Linked DNA regions of Homo sapiens: region 1 is linked to region 2. Evidence: promoter capture Hi-C in 16 types of primary human blood cells and fetal thymus (Javierre and others, 2016). All regions are on one chromosome and are shown on one strand. The core of a region is centred on a gene start or on the middle of the fragment in contact, and the rest is flanking DNA. Distances in the headings are between cores, read along the strand shown. Region 1 overlaps IGF2R (insulin like growth factor 2 receptor). Region 2 holds the start of PNLDC1 (PARN like ribonuclease domain containing exonuclease 1).

Region 1 (6,121 bases), core at 2,931-5,430, 210 kb after region 2:
GAGCATGAGATATTCTTTCACATTTTCTGCTGTGCATGTTCCATATGTGCATGGTTTTCTCTTTTATATAGACCTGAGTGGAGTAACTAGGTCATAGGGCACACGAATGTTCAATTTTAGGACATAATGTCCTGCTGACTTACATAGTTGTTGAACCAGTTAACATTTCACTAGCAATACAGGAGAGCTCTGAGCCACCTCATGGCTGACACTTGGTATTTAATTTTTGCCAGAGGGATGGTTGTAAATGGTATACCATTTTGGTCTTGATTTGAAATTCCTTGATCACCAGTAACATTGAACATGTCTTAACATATTTATTGATGTACATTTTTCTTTGATTTGCTTGATCATGTCTTGTTCATTTTATATTGGGTTATTGTGTGTGACCTAGATTAGAATTTTTTCTTTTCATTGGATATTAAGATCCACCATTGTGTGGCTAGGAGTGGGTTTTTCCTTCTCTCTCCTTTCCAGCATGGTGTGTGCTTTCTCAGTCAGAGGTAATTCATCGTCCTTTATTTCCTGGAATTATACAGACATTCTTTTCTTGTTTGTTTGCATGTGAATGTGTATGTAGAGATTCTTGATGCTGGTTCTTTGCCAGTTCTGTGTTTTTCCTAGTTTATAACTTACTTCCGTTTTCTTTAAGCTGTTTTTTGATGAGTATAAACTCTTAAATTGAATAGGTCAACCTCATTAATCTTTTTGAGTCTTAAGAAATCTTTCTCTATCTTAAGATTTCTGCCAAGTTTTGAAGTTTGGATTTTGATGTTTACATCTTTAATCCATTTAGACAGGGGTGTCCAATCTTTTGGCTTCCCTAGGCCACATTGGAAGAATAATTATCTTTGGCCACCTAAAATACACTAATACTCATGATACTTAATGATCTAAAAAAAATCACAAAAAAGATCTCATAATGTTTTAAGAAAGTTTACAAGTTTGTGTTGGGCTGCATTCAAAGCCATTCTGGGCTGTATGTGGCCCATGGGCCACGGGTTGGACAAGCTTGTGTTTAGAGTTGATTTTTGTACCCAGTACTGGGTAGGGATCCAATTTTGTCTTTTTCCATATGGAAAACTATTTTGTTTCCAGTTCCGTTTTTATTTCCAGTTCTGTTTATTGAACAGCCTCCTCTTTTCCCTGACCTATTACTTCTGTCATAATCAAAGTTTAATTCACATTTGTGTCTCTGTGCTCTCTCTTCTAGTCGATTGGTCTCTATTCTAGTCTTTTGATCAGTTTATTCCTATGCCAACCCCCATCATGTTGATTTTTACATAGACTTTTTATTCTGGACTGTTACAGTAATGTCCTGGACAAGCAGAGATGTGGTCATTCTACTTGTGGGCCTTTCTAGAGAATGTTGATTTTGTAGCATATGTGATGGGAAGTATTGAAACATTTCAGTGGCTGAGTTATATATCCTGATTTGTATTTTTGAAGATCACACTGGTGCAAGATGGATGAGGAAGTGGGGCTGGCGAGGGATGAGACTAGTGTGGAGGCAGGGGGAGCAGTTAGGTGGCCATTGCTGGAGCGCAGGTAGTGGTTTTAGCGGGAGTAGAGGTGGAGAAATGTGGACAGATTTGAGATGGGCGTATAGCTGTGGACCTTTCTGATGTATAGAATGCAGCAGACAAGGTAAAGATGGCACTTAATGTAATGTAATGGGGATGCCACTCTGAGATGGAAAATTCTGGGAAAGGACAGTTTTATAAATTTATAAGCTATCAGATACATTATAATGCTACTTTTAATTTGCTTTTCCTTGGAAATAGCTGTTTGGTTATGTATGTTTTATAGCCTGTTCACTCTCTTTTCTCTCCAAATAGGTGACTCTGTTTTGAGAAGTGCAACCAGATCTCTCCTGGAATTCAACACAACAGTGAGCTGTGACCAGCAAGGCACAAATCACAGAGTCCAGAGCAGCATTGCCTTCCTGTGTGGGAAAACCCTGGTGAGTCCACACAGGCACTTGATGTATTTCTTTAAAAAAAAAAAGGTCTGCCCCTTGGTGTTCTGGCTGTAGAGGTATTCCAGGAAGAATCAGTGAGCAAACTTAGAAACACAAATAAGAAAAACCCTACCAAATGACCATCATCATCAAGAACCAATAAGTAAACAAATTCTAAACTTGTTACAACTTTTAAGTAAAACATAGACCATGTCTTTTGTAAAACTACAATTCAAAGTGATTACTGTGTTAAAAATCAGTGCACTGTTTAATGTTTAAGTTATAGGCATACTTTTTTTTTCTCTAAAACCTCTTCTTCTAGCATTTCATTTTGATAGGTTTTAGGGCAGCATATTTAGTTTTTTAAAAAATATTTTTCTTTCCTCATTTATATTAAATTAGAGATACCCACATCTATTTAGGAGAAGCCTTGGCCCGTGGGTATGGGGTTCTCAAGTTTTTTGGATATTACCTGGTGTTTAAAGGGGACATAATTGTGTAAATTATTATGATTGTTCTTATTATGGGCATATTGTATGTAATTTGTTGATTTTAATCTTTAGTTTTTGGAAAGGAACTTGCAGTAAATAATTGTTTTAGCTCTTGGGAGAAGGAATTGGTATACAAATTCTATGAATGTTCTTGAATCCCAGTAAGAACCCAATCTTTAGGAAAGTCAGGTTGAGTGAAACTCTGTGGCTACTAAATTGCTTTAAAATATCATTTTAGAATTTGGGACTGTGACTATTGCATCTTCAGGTCCACAGTGTCTTATCTGAAGAACTTTGAAAATAAAACTAATATTGTTAATTTTGGATCCGCATATAAATTGCATCGTTGTGCATATTGAGACCCAAAAAAGAATCTGTTCGCAGCAGCATTAAATGAGATTTATATTACAGAATAAAATATATAGCTCCTGTTTTAACTTCAGCTAATTTCCTTTATGAATTCTGTGTTCACCATACCAGAAATAGAACTGTGAAGGATAACTCCCTAGACTTGCACGTGGGAGTGAAGAGGCCAGTTCCTGCTGTGCTTGTGTCATCCTGCGATGCTGGGGTTGACCTGTTTGTAGTCCACTCTGGTTGCGGTTAACAGGAGGGGCTGCCTTGGAGGGTTGGCGTCTGGTGGGTGTACTAACTTGGTCAGATGCAGATGGGCTCCTCATGGGAGCCTTTTCACGGGAAGCATGAGGTCACGTTTTCTGGCTTTCGTTTGCTGGCATTTGCTTAAGAGAACATTTGGAGTTTGAGAGGAGAATGACTGAGGATTTCTTCCCATGAACTCACTCAATGTACTTGCACAGCTGGGGCGGTAGAATTCCTTTGGATTAGTTACACAAAATCCCAACATGATTTTATGAAGCTTTGGTCTCAGAATTTGCAGATTTGGGAACCTCTTGATGACCCCGTTTAACTAAAGCGGTTGCATCCCCTGCCCTTCTTGCTGCTGCTTTCTTTATTTTAGTAGCCTTTACTGCATTCTCATTTTAAAGAAGAATCTTTACAATGTGTGGTATGGTAACATTATAATTACTATTTTTTTTTAATAGGGAACTCCTGAATTTGTAACTGCAACAGAATGTGTGCACTACTTTGAGTGGAGGACCACTGCAGCCTGCAAGAAAGACATATTTAAAGCAAATAAGGAGGTAACATGGGAACTTCAAATTACATGCTTATGAAGTATACTCTGGGGAACTTTATCTTTCAAATACTGATTCTAACCTTTCCGGGTGAAAATCTTTTTTAGCTTCCAAATTGCATTTGAGCAGAGATACCATGTGATTTAATTTTTAAAACTTTTCTGAGTGGTTCTTATTTTTAGGACAGGGCATTTAAAATATCACAGGATGTGATTTTTGGTCCAGATTGGAAATAGAATGGCTCATCCATATAGGGCAAGTTAGTTCTTGGTTTCTGGTGCTGTGCAACTCAGTAAACTAAGTGACGTGTTTGGGCTTGGGCTTAGAGTATTCACTCTACCTGCAGGAGCCATCTGTTTCTGACGCTGCCTGCTTCATCTTCCTTTGCACCTGGCTTTCCACCTGTGTTGTACCCCGCTTTTGATAAGTCTCCTTTACCTGTTTGCATTGTTAAATCTCTCTGTCCCTCTCCTCAGCCTTGGGATGACTTCTGGCTGCAATGTGAGTCCAGGTCAGGTATCCCTTAAATTCTTTTCCAGCTCACCTCAGAGACTAGATTACTAGGTTACTGTTACTATTACGTCCACCCCTTATTATTTGAACCCAGCATTCCTTGGTCAAGACATTCTTCTTGGGTGCATGTATGTATATATATCTATATACATACACACTGACCTATATGTATTATGTGCAACATGATATTTTGAAATATGTATACATTGAGGAATGGCTACATTGAGCTAATTACATATGTGTTACCTCACATATTTCGTTTTTTTTTTTTTTTTTGTGAGGACTCTTAAAATCTACTCTCTTAGTGATACGCAAGAATAAATTACATTGTTATTAACTGTGGTTGTGGTGGTGTTTAATGGATCTCTTGGGCAGGTCATTCTTGTTGACTAATGGAATGTCCCCTTCCCCAGCCTGGATTCCCTCATGTTGCACTGCTACTTGATTCTCCCTGGTCCTGGGGAAGAGCAGACTGTGTTCCTTCTGCCGCTTCTCCATGCCCACCACCCCAGATCCTAAAGGGAATTTCCTGTTCTCACCTTGATAACAATCTTAATTAATTGATTATCTCACTTTTCTCTCCTACTTTCTGTTTTTAAGAACTTTCAAAGGTTGTAAGGATTCAGGAACTAATGAATGGTCATAATCAGTAATTTTTACTAGTGGCCTAATACCATGCAGTTTAATAAGACAAAAAGAAATGTTTATTTAAAAACATTAATTCAGATTAAATTATGAACAATAAATCACTGATATTTTCAGATATGGTCATCTATGAAGGGAAAGACAGTGTCATATGGAAGTGGAAGTGGTAAAATACTGCCCAGGAAAGCCATAAGGAGCATTCAATGAAAAAAAAAAAGTTTAAAGTGGAAAGAATTAAGGCTGATATTTAGGAGACAGTGTCAAATGTAAGCTTCATTTAAAAACTTAGGTGAAGCTGTTAGATGACATACTGTTAGCGGTGGGAAAAGCATCTCAAAGCAGACATCTGTTTGGGGTTTGGGGGTGAGGGTGGGAGCACAGTGTGTTCATTCTCGCAGTGCTATAAAGAAACACCTGAGACTGGGTAATTTATAAAGAAAAGAGGTATAATTAGCTCACAGTTCCGCAGGTTGTAAAGGAAGAATGGCAGCATCTGCATCTGGAGAAGCCTCAGGAAACTTACAGTCATGGCAGAAGGCAACAGAGTATCGAGCACCTCACGTGGCCAGAGCCTGAGGAAGAGAGTGGGAGGGGGAGGTGCCGCCCACTTTGAAATGACCAGATCTCACAAGAACTCACTCACTATCATGATAATAGCAAGAAGGGGGTGATGGAATCTGCCCTCATGATCCAGTCACCTCCCCAGGCCCCGCCTCCAATGTTGAGGATTACAATTTGACACAAGATTTGAGTGGGGACACACAGTCATCCTGGGATTACAGGCATGAGCCACCATGCCCGGCTAATTTATATATATATATATATATTTTTTTTTTTTTTTGTTTGTTTGTTTGTTTATTTGTTTGTTTTGTAGAGACGGGGTTTCTCTATGTTGGCCAGGCTGGCCTTGAACTCCTGACCTCAGGTGATCCGCCTGCCTCGGCCTCCCAAAGTGCTGGGATTACAGGAGTGAGCCCCTGCGCCTGGCCCCACACACAGTCATCCTCAAGTGTCCAGTTGGCCGGATCTGAGTTGCTTCCTGTGGGAGGTGGAGGCTGCGGTGACAGTGGTGCCCTCTGCTCTCCTGTTAGACCCCAGACCTCTCAGTCCCACAGATACTCTCCTGGGCTCTGATTTTCCAACCTGATCATGATACCCTTTTTGTTTTGTTTTGTTTTTGTTTTATCTGAGTGTACCTCTTATGTCACGTTGCTGAATTGACAGTTGTGTCTTCTACCACCTAGGAAAAAATTGCTTTCCAAAATAAAATGAATAGCAACTTGTTTTCAATGGGTCAGAAATCACCAACTACAGCCCATGGTTCAAAGCCTGCCCTGGCCTGTTTTTGTACAACC
Region 2 (6,787 bases), core at 3,413-5,912:
TAGTACAGAACAAAATGGAGTCTCCTATGTCTACTTCTTTCTACACAGACAGTAACAATCTGATCTCTTGCTTTTCCCCACAAGTTATTGATCATTTTCTTGTTAATTATAGGAGGCTTTTAACATATTGTGTAAATTAGCTCTTTGAACAATATATGAGTTTAAAATATTTTTTCTTTTTATATTTTTGTGACAGGGTTTCACTCTGTCACCCAGGCTGGAGTGCAGGGCATTATCACGGCTCACTGCAGCCACAACCTCCTGGGCTCAAACAATCTTCCCACCTCAGCCTCCCAAGTAGCTGGGACTACAGGTGCACACCATCACGCCTGGCTGATTTTTTCTATTTTTTGTAGAGACAGAGTGTCACTGTGTTGCCTGGGCTGGTCTTGAACTCCTTGGCTCTAGCAGTCCTCCTGCCTCAGCCTTCCAAAGTGCTGGGATTACAAGCTTGAGTCACATGCCCAGCCTAAAATATTTTTTGTTTCATTGCTTTTCTTTTGACTTCATTTTACTTTTTTTTTTTTTTTTTTTTTAACCATGCAGCAAATTTTGTCCATCATTTCTTTTTTATGCCATATGAGGGGCTGGGCATGGTGGCTCAGCCTGTAACCCCAGCACATTAGGAGGCTGAGGTGGGTAGACTGCTTGAGCTTAGGAGTTTGAGACGAGCCTGGGCAATATGGCAAACCCTGTCTCTACAAAAAAATACAAAAATTAGCTGGGTGCAGTGGCATGCGCCTGTAGTCCCAGCCACTTGGGAGGTTGAGGTGGAAGGATGACTTGATCCCAGGAGGCAGAGGCTGCTGTGAGCCAAGTTCGTGCCTCTGTACTCTAGCCTGAGAGACAGAGGCAGACCCTGTCTCAAAAAAAAAAAAAAATGGCCATATGAAGCTGGACACAGTGGCTCATGCCTGTAATCCCAGTGCTTTGGGAGGTTGAGAAGGGTGGGTCGCTTGAGGCCAGGAGTTTGACACCAGCCTTGGCAACATAGGGAGACCCTGTCTCTACAAAATAAAAATTATCTTGGTGCAGTGGCATGCACCTGTAATGCCAACTACTTGGGAGACTAAGGCAGGAGGGTTGCTTGAGCCTAGGGGTTTGAGGCTACAGTGAGCTGTGGTTGCACTGCTGTACTCCGAGCTGGGTGACAGTGAGACCCTGTTTCTGAAAAATAATAAAAGCCATATGACATGGTTTGATGTCATATTTAAATATGCATACCTTGAGATTATAAAAAAATTTCTCATGTTTTCTTCTAGTACTGTTATGATTTCAGTTTTTGCATTTAAATTTTTGTTCCGTCTTATATTTATTTTGGTGCTAGCTATAAATAAAAGCAAAGAGTAAGTATATCCATGTCATGCATATGTTCAGTAACTTAGCTCTGTCTCTTCAAATCTCTTTTTGAAGTAGATCTGTAAATAAAACTCAGCTCTTCAGAAACAAATTTCTTCATGATACTTGAACTATTTAGTTTGTTATTATTGAGGATATTCTCATAAAGGCGGAGGAAAAATACTTTTCCCAAGCAAAATCCAAGTTAAATATGTTGAAGTAAATGAACCAAACACTGGATTGTTGAAAAATATTTAGTCATTTATTCACCTCAATTAATGTAACTTTAGGATACAGATTCTTCTGTGATTTTATTATCTTCTCACCCCATTTAGGTTGCGAGTTATAAGGACTCAGCATCATGTAGAAGCACTTGTGGAGCATCAGAATGGCAAGGTTGTGGTTTCGGCCTCCACTCGTGAGTGGGCTATTAAAAAGCACCTTTATAGTACCAGAAATGTGGTGGCTTGTGAGAGTATAGGACGAGTGCTGGCACAGAGATGCTTAGAGGCGGGAATCAACTTCATGGTCTACCAACCAACCCCGTGGGAGGCAGCCTCAGACTCGGTATTTTTGTTTTCATGTACTTATTGAAAAGGTATTGTGTTAATTCTTGGCATTAGATAACTTACATAATAATAACAGTTTTTACTTACCAAATACTTTCCATGTGTCAGACCCTTTGGTGAGTACTCAACAGTGTTACTTCATTTAATCCTCACATCAGTCCATAGGGTAGGGACTAGTACTCTCATTCTATACAGAAATAAACTGAGGCTTACTTGCCCAGAGTCAGTGTATGGTGGATTTCAAACCCAGGGTGACTGATTCTGTAGTCCATGATGTCAGCCACTGTATTTCCTGTTCATATATTGACATCTTGTCCATATAATATTTTGAAATGCTGCTGAACCTTGACATCTCTACATTTCCTTTTTACTTACATCATTATTAAGATCACTTTCTGAAAAACCGTTGTAGGCTGGGAAGTTAGCAAGAACAAATCAATTTATTTCTGTCTTTTGGAAGGTGAAAGTATTTTCAGCCTACTCGTGCTGCTGACTTAATCTTTTCCTTTTTTTTCTGATTTTCAAAACCAGATGAAACGACTACAAAGTGCCATGACAGAAGGTGGTGTGGTTCTACGGGAACCTCAGAGAATCTATGAATAAATGGAAGCATTAATTGTTTTGAACATGTAAATATAAATCTGTCAGCCACTACAGCCATCAAAAGAGAGCATCTGGAAGAACAGCCAGCTTGGAAGTTTTACAGCAATAATGTTGCAGTGGAATATTATTTGTAGTTAAGGTCATCCTCCTCCCCTTTCTGTTTTTTTAAATCAAGAACTACGTTCTGCCCCTCTCTTGGGCTTCAGAAGCATCTAAGAAAAGCAGTCATCAATTATAATTAACTTTCAAAGGGCAAGTCAGAAGTTGTTTATAAATTACAAAATAAAGGCATATTATGAACTCTTATTTTCTGGTTATATGACATTGTCTGAGCTCACTGTGGCAGTGGAGCACATATGAGGTTGATGTAAAGCACTTATTACTGTGTCTAGTTCATGGCGAGTGATCTCAGTGAATGACAGTTGTTTGCTGCTCGGAGTGTGGGTTGTTTTTTAAAATAGGAAATGTCAGTATCAATCTAATACTATAGAACAGTCAGTATGTGAAAATGAAAGGACCAAATGCCAACCTCACTTGGACTCTTGGTTCCCAACAGTAAGAGAAACAAATTTGAAAGAGGAAGGAGGTGGCATCAGGAGCTGAAAGCAGAGGTGGAAATGGTTGGGGTTAGTGGGCGCTCAATTTGCCATGAAGTGAACATTTTATTAGATAGGAGATGAAACTTGAAATGCATGCAAGTTAATCTAAAATTTGAGCTTGGGTAGATGGGAATCATGGCAGTTCTCTGAAAGGAGCTGATTAAGGTGTTAATTTTTGGCTATTTGATAAATGTGAGAAAAAACCTGTAGGCAGTTAAGGTGGCTTCTAGAGCATTGTTTTCCAGTTTTTTTAATGTATACCCCAATTAAATGTTTGTTTAGAAGTGAAATATGTTACTTCTGCCAATTTGAGTATTCAATGTGTTATTTTAAATGGAACACATCTGTATGAAGTATGATTTGTTCTGAGAGGTCTTCAGAATCAAATGGCTTAATAGTCCCCTTTTGCTTAATTAATGTCCCGGAGAGGCATTTAAAAGTATAATTGAAGATCGGATGCAGTGCCTCACACCTCTAATCCCACCACTTTAGGAGGCTGAAGCAGGTGGATCACTTGAGGCCAGGAATTCGAGACCAGCCTGGCCAATACGGTTTAACCCTATCTCTACTAAAAACAAAAATGAGTTGGGCGTGGTGGTGCATGCCTGTAATCCCAGCTGTTCAGAGGCTGAGGCGGGAGAATCGCTTGAACTCAGGAGGTGGAGATTGCAGAGAGCCGAGATGGCACCACTGCACTCCAGCCTGGGTGACAGAGTGAGACTGTCTCAAAAGGAAAAAATAAAGTATAACGGTAATGTTTTCTCCGCTAACCTTAAAGATTGATTTGAGCACCTCACTTTGAGGACCATAGTTCCAAAACGCTGTTCAAGTAGAAGCCTAGAATTCAAGGGAGGACACTGTAAGGAAGACCATGGACTAGTTGCACTGGAAACAGTAACAAAAGTAAAAATTAAGCTCACATGTATGTGATGATGTAGGTAGGGATTTCCGCAAGGAGTGAGTGCACGAGATAATCCCTGGGGACCAAGGATTCCTTCAATTTAATGGGCAGTTCTTGAGGCTTTGCAAAGTTTGATTGCAGGTGTGAAGACAGTGGTAAGGTGGACAGCAGAATGAGGAAAAAGATGTCCAGGGGCGTGGGAGAGGGAATGGGGACAGACATACTGGCAGTGATGGAGAAGTTGGGAAGAGGTGATTTAGAAGACCGTGAGCCGCAGCAAAGGATCTGCTTATTGCAGTTGCGTCCGGTGTTGTTCCTGCTCCGCTTTTCTGATTTCACCCTTTCTGGACTCTGTCTTCGTCTCCTGCCACGCCTCTTAACATTCTAAGTCCATGTAAATGACATTCTCACGTTAAGGGCTGCAAAGAAATTGCTGAGGAGCCAGGTAAACAGGCTTTGATTGCAATTGCAATCAAACCTCTGTAGCAAATCGTACAATTAAAACACCCGCAGGCAGGTGTGGGCGACGCCAGCAGCACACGGGGAAGCTGGGCACGTGGGGCGGAGGCAGCTGCCTGGTTTCCATGTGTGCGCCCTTTAAGACCCGGCGGCGCGACGGAAGCGCGTGGGCAGCACGTGGGCAGCACGTGATAGCGCTGGGCGACTCCGCGGAGCTGCACGGCCATGGACGTGGGCGCCGACGAGTTCGAGGAGAGCCTCCCTCTGCTGCAGGAGCTCGTCCAGGAGGCCGACTTCGTGGGTGAAGAGCCTGGGATTCGCGGCTGTGCCGGACAGAGCCCCTTGCCCCGGGCGAGCTTGAGGAGGGGGTGGCGGGACGGTTGCCAGGCCACAGGGCCTCAGAGAGGGCCTCGGGAAGGACAGGGGGGCTTCCTTCTCCAGCCCCGGGGCGGTGGGACTTTGAGCAGCAAGTACACTCCGAGCCCCACGTCCCTTGTTGGCCAGAGCCCCGTGCGCCCAGGTGCCTGGCTGCTCCTTGCCTTGGTTCCTCCATTTTCCCTTCCTGACCTCACTTGGCTTCTTGAGCGCAGAGGTGAGCGCGGGTGCCTTGGCCGCCTGCAGATCTACAGTGTGAGGAGTGCTGGCGATGTTCTGCACCCGAGGACTGCTATTTTTTGCCTTCCTGGCAGGTCTGGACATAGAGTTCACGGGCCTTCGTTCTAACCTGTCTGGGCCCCAGCAGATCAGGTAAAACTAAAGCTGTGTCCCCTCTGTATAAGAGCCTGGCCAGACCAGCACTGTTTCTGGCCAGCAGCCTGTTGGCATTTGGGGGGCAGGACGTTTTGTGTGGCTTGCTCCTACGTGTTGGAGGACCTTGCTTTTTTCTGTCCACTAAATGATGGTAGTGCTCCCTAGTTGTTGTAACAAGGAAAAAATCCTCCCCGGTTGCGAGTGGTGGTCCTGCCGCGGAGGCCATAGTGCCGGGATGGGATGTCATTGCTCGTGGAATGAGATGCCTGTTTGTTCACAGTCTTTTTGATTTGCCATCGGAGTGGTATCTAAAGACCCGTCAGAGTGTTCAGCAATTTACAGTCTGTCAGATTGGTGAGTTTAATATCAGCTGTTAGAGTTTTTCAAGAAGGTATTTTTATTGTCCTTGGATTTCCTACTGTAAAAACAGCTCTGAGATTTTTCAAGGATATTGAGTATCGTTTTGTATGCTTGTTTTGTGTTGGGCCATTGTATACATATGGAAATCAACACTTCGGAGCAAACCAAATTTAGCAGCATTGTTTCCGTGCTTAAATAAGTCAGTATTAAGGAACACTCACTGTTACTCTTTCAAGTAAAACTGTGTGTGTGCGATTTTTATTTTATTTTTTGAGACAGGGTCTTGCTCTGTCACCAAGACTGGAGTGCAGTAGCATAGTCTTAGCTCACTGCAGCCTAGACTTCCTGGGCTCAAGTGATACTAGCACGTCAGCCTCCTGAGTAAACTGGGACTACAGGCTCACCACCACACCTAGCTAATTTTTAAATTTTTTGTTCAGATGGGTTTTCGTCATGTTGGCCAGGCTGTTCTTGACTTCCTGGGCTCGAGCAATCTTTCTGCCTCTGCCTCTCAAAGTGATGGAATTATAAGCGTGAGCAACCACACCTGGCCTGTGATTTTTTTTTCTTAAGAAAATTTACACACAAAAATAATTTTTTTTAAGGTCATCTCAGTTTCAGAAACTTTTTTTTTTTCCTTGATGGGATTTGGAGATCTTTCTGTATCGGTTCATACAGATCTATTTGTTGATTTAGTTATTAGTTTATTTTCTGAGATGGAGTCTCGCTCTGTTGCCCAGGCTGGAGTGCAGTAGCGCGATGTGGGCTCACCGCAACCTCCACCACCCAGGTTCGGGTGATTCTCCTGCCTCAGCCTCCAGAGCAGCTGGGATTACAGGCAATTGCCACCAGGCCTGGCTAATTTTTGTATTTTTAGTAGCGATGGGGTTTCACCATGTTGGCCAGGCTGGTCAAGACAGAGCTGTTAACGGTTGCGTAATGCTGTTTCTTTTACAGCTACTCAATCCTGCTTTTGTAATGTGAAATTAGCTGTAGAGAATACATGAACAAATGAGCATGGCTCCATTCCAGTAAAATGTTATTGTATTTACAGAAACAGACCCTGGGCCAGATTTTACTTTTCTGGGTTTGTCTGTGCCCTCTCCCGCACCATTGGGTTTTTGCTGTGTTGCCCAGGCTGGGCTCAAACTTTTGGGCTCTGGAGATCCTCCAGTCTCAGCTTCTGAAGTAGCTGGGAGTGCTGCCAC

Evidence for each region. Contacts are between HindIII fragments. The CHiCAGO score rates a contact against its expected background, and 5 or more counts as called.
Region 1: a fragment that was not itself captured here is called in contact with the fragment with the promoter of PNLDC1 in region 2 in 1 of 17 cell types (neutrophils); the score reaches 5.3 in neutrophils.

Annotation. Positions count from the first base shown.
Region 1 is chr6:160,007,172-160,013,292 of GRCh38, forward strand. IGF2R (insulin like growth factor 2 receptor) reads left to right here. Exons shown (of 48, transcript NM_000876.4): 3 at 1,839-1,963; 4 at 3,516-3,614. AIRN (antisense of IGF2R non-protein coding RNA) reads right to left here and starts at 493. Exons shown (of 1, transcript NR_047514.1): 1 at 1-493. The HindIII fragment of the contact is 1,709 bases long and covers 3,327-5,035 here.
Region 2 is chr6:159,795,614-159,802,400 of GRCh38, forward strand. PNLDC1 (PARN like ribonuclease domain containing exonuclease 1) reads left to right here and starts at 4,663. Exons shown (of 19, transcript NM_001271862.2): 1 at 4,663-4,770; 2 at 5,159-5,216; 3 at 5,500-5,573. The coding sequence starts at 4,695. It overlaps MRPL18 (mitochondrial ribosomal protein L18), which reads left to right. Exons shown (of 4, transcript NM_014161.5): 3 at 1,674-1,905; 4 at 2,439-2,816. The coding sequence ends at 2,510. RefSeq lists an enhancer at 1-225. The HindIII fragment of the contact is 10,328 bases long and covers 449-6,787 here.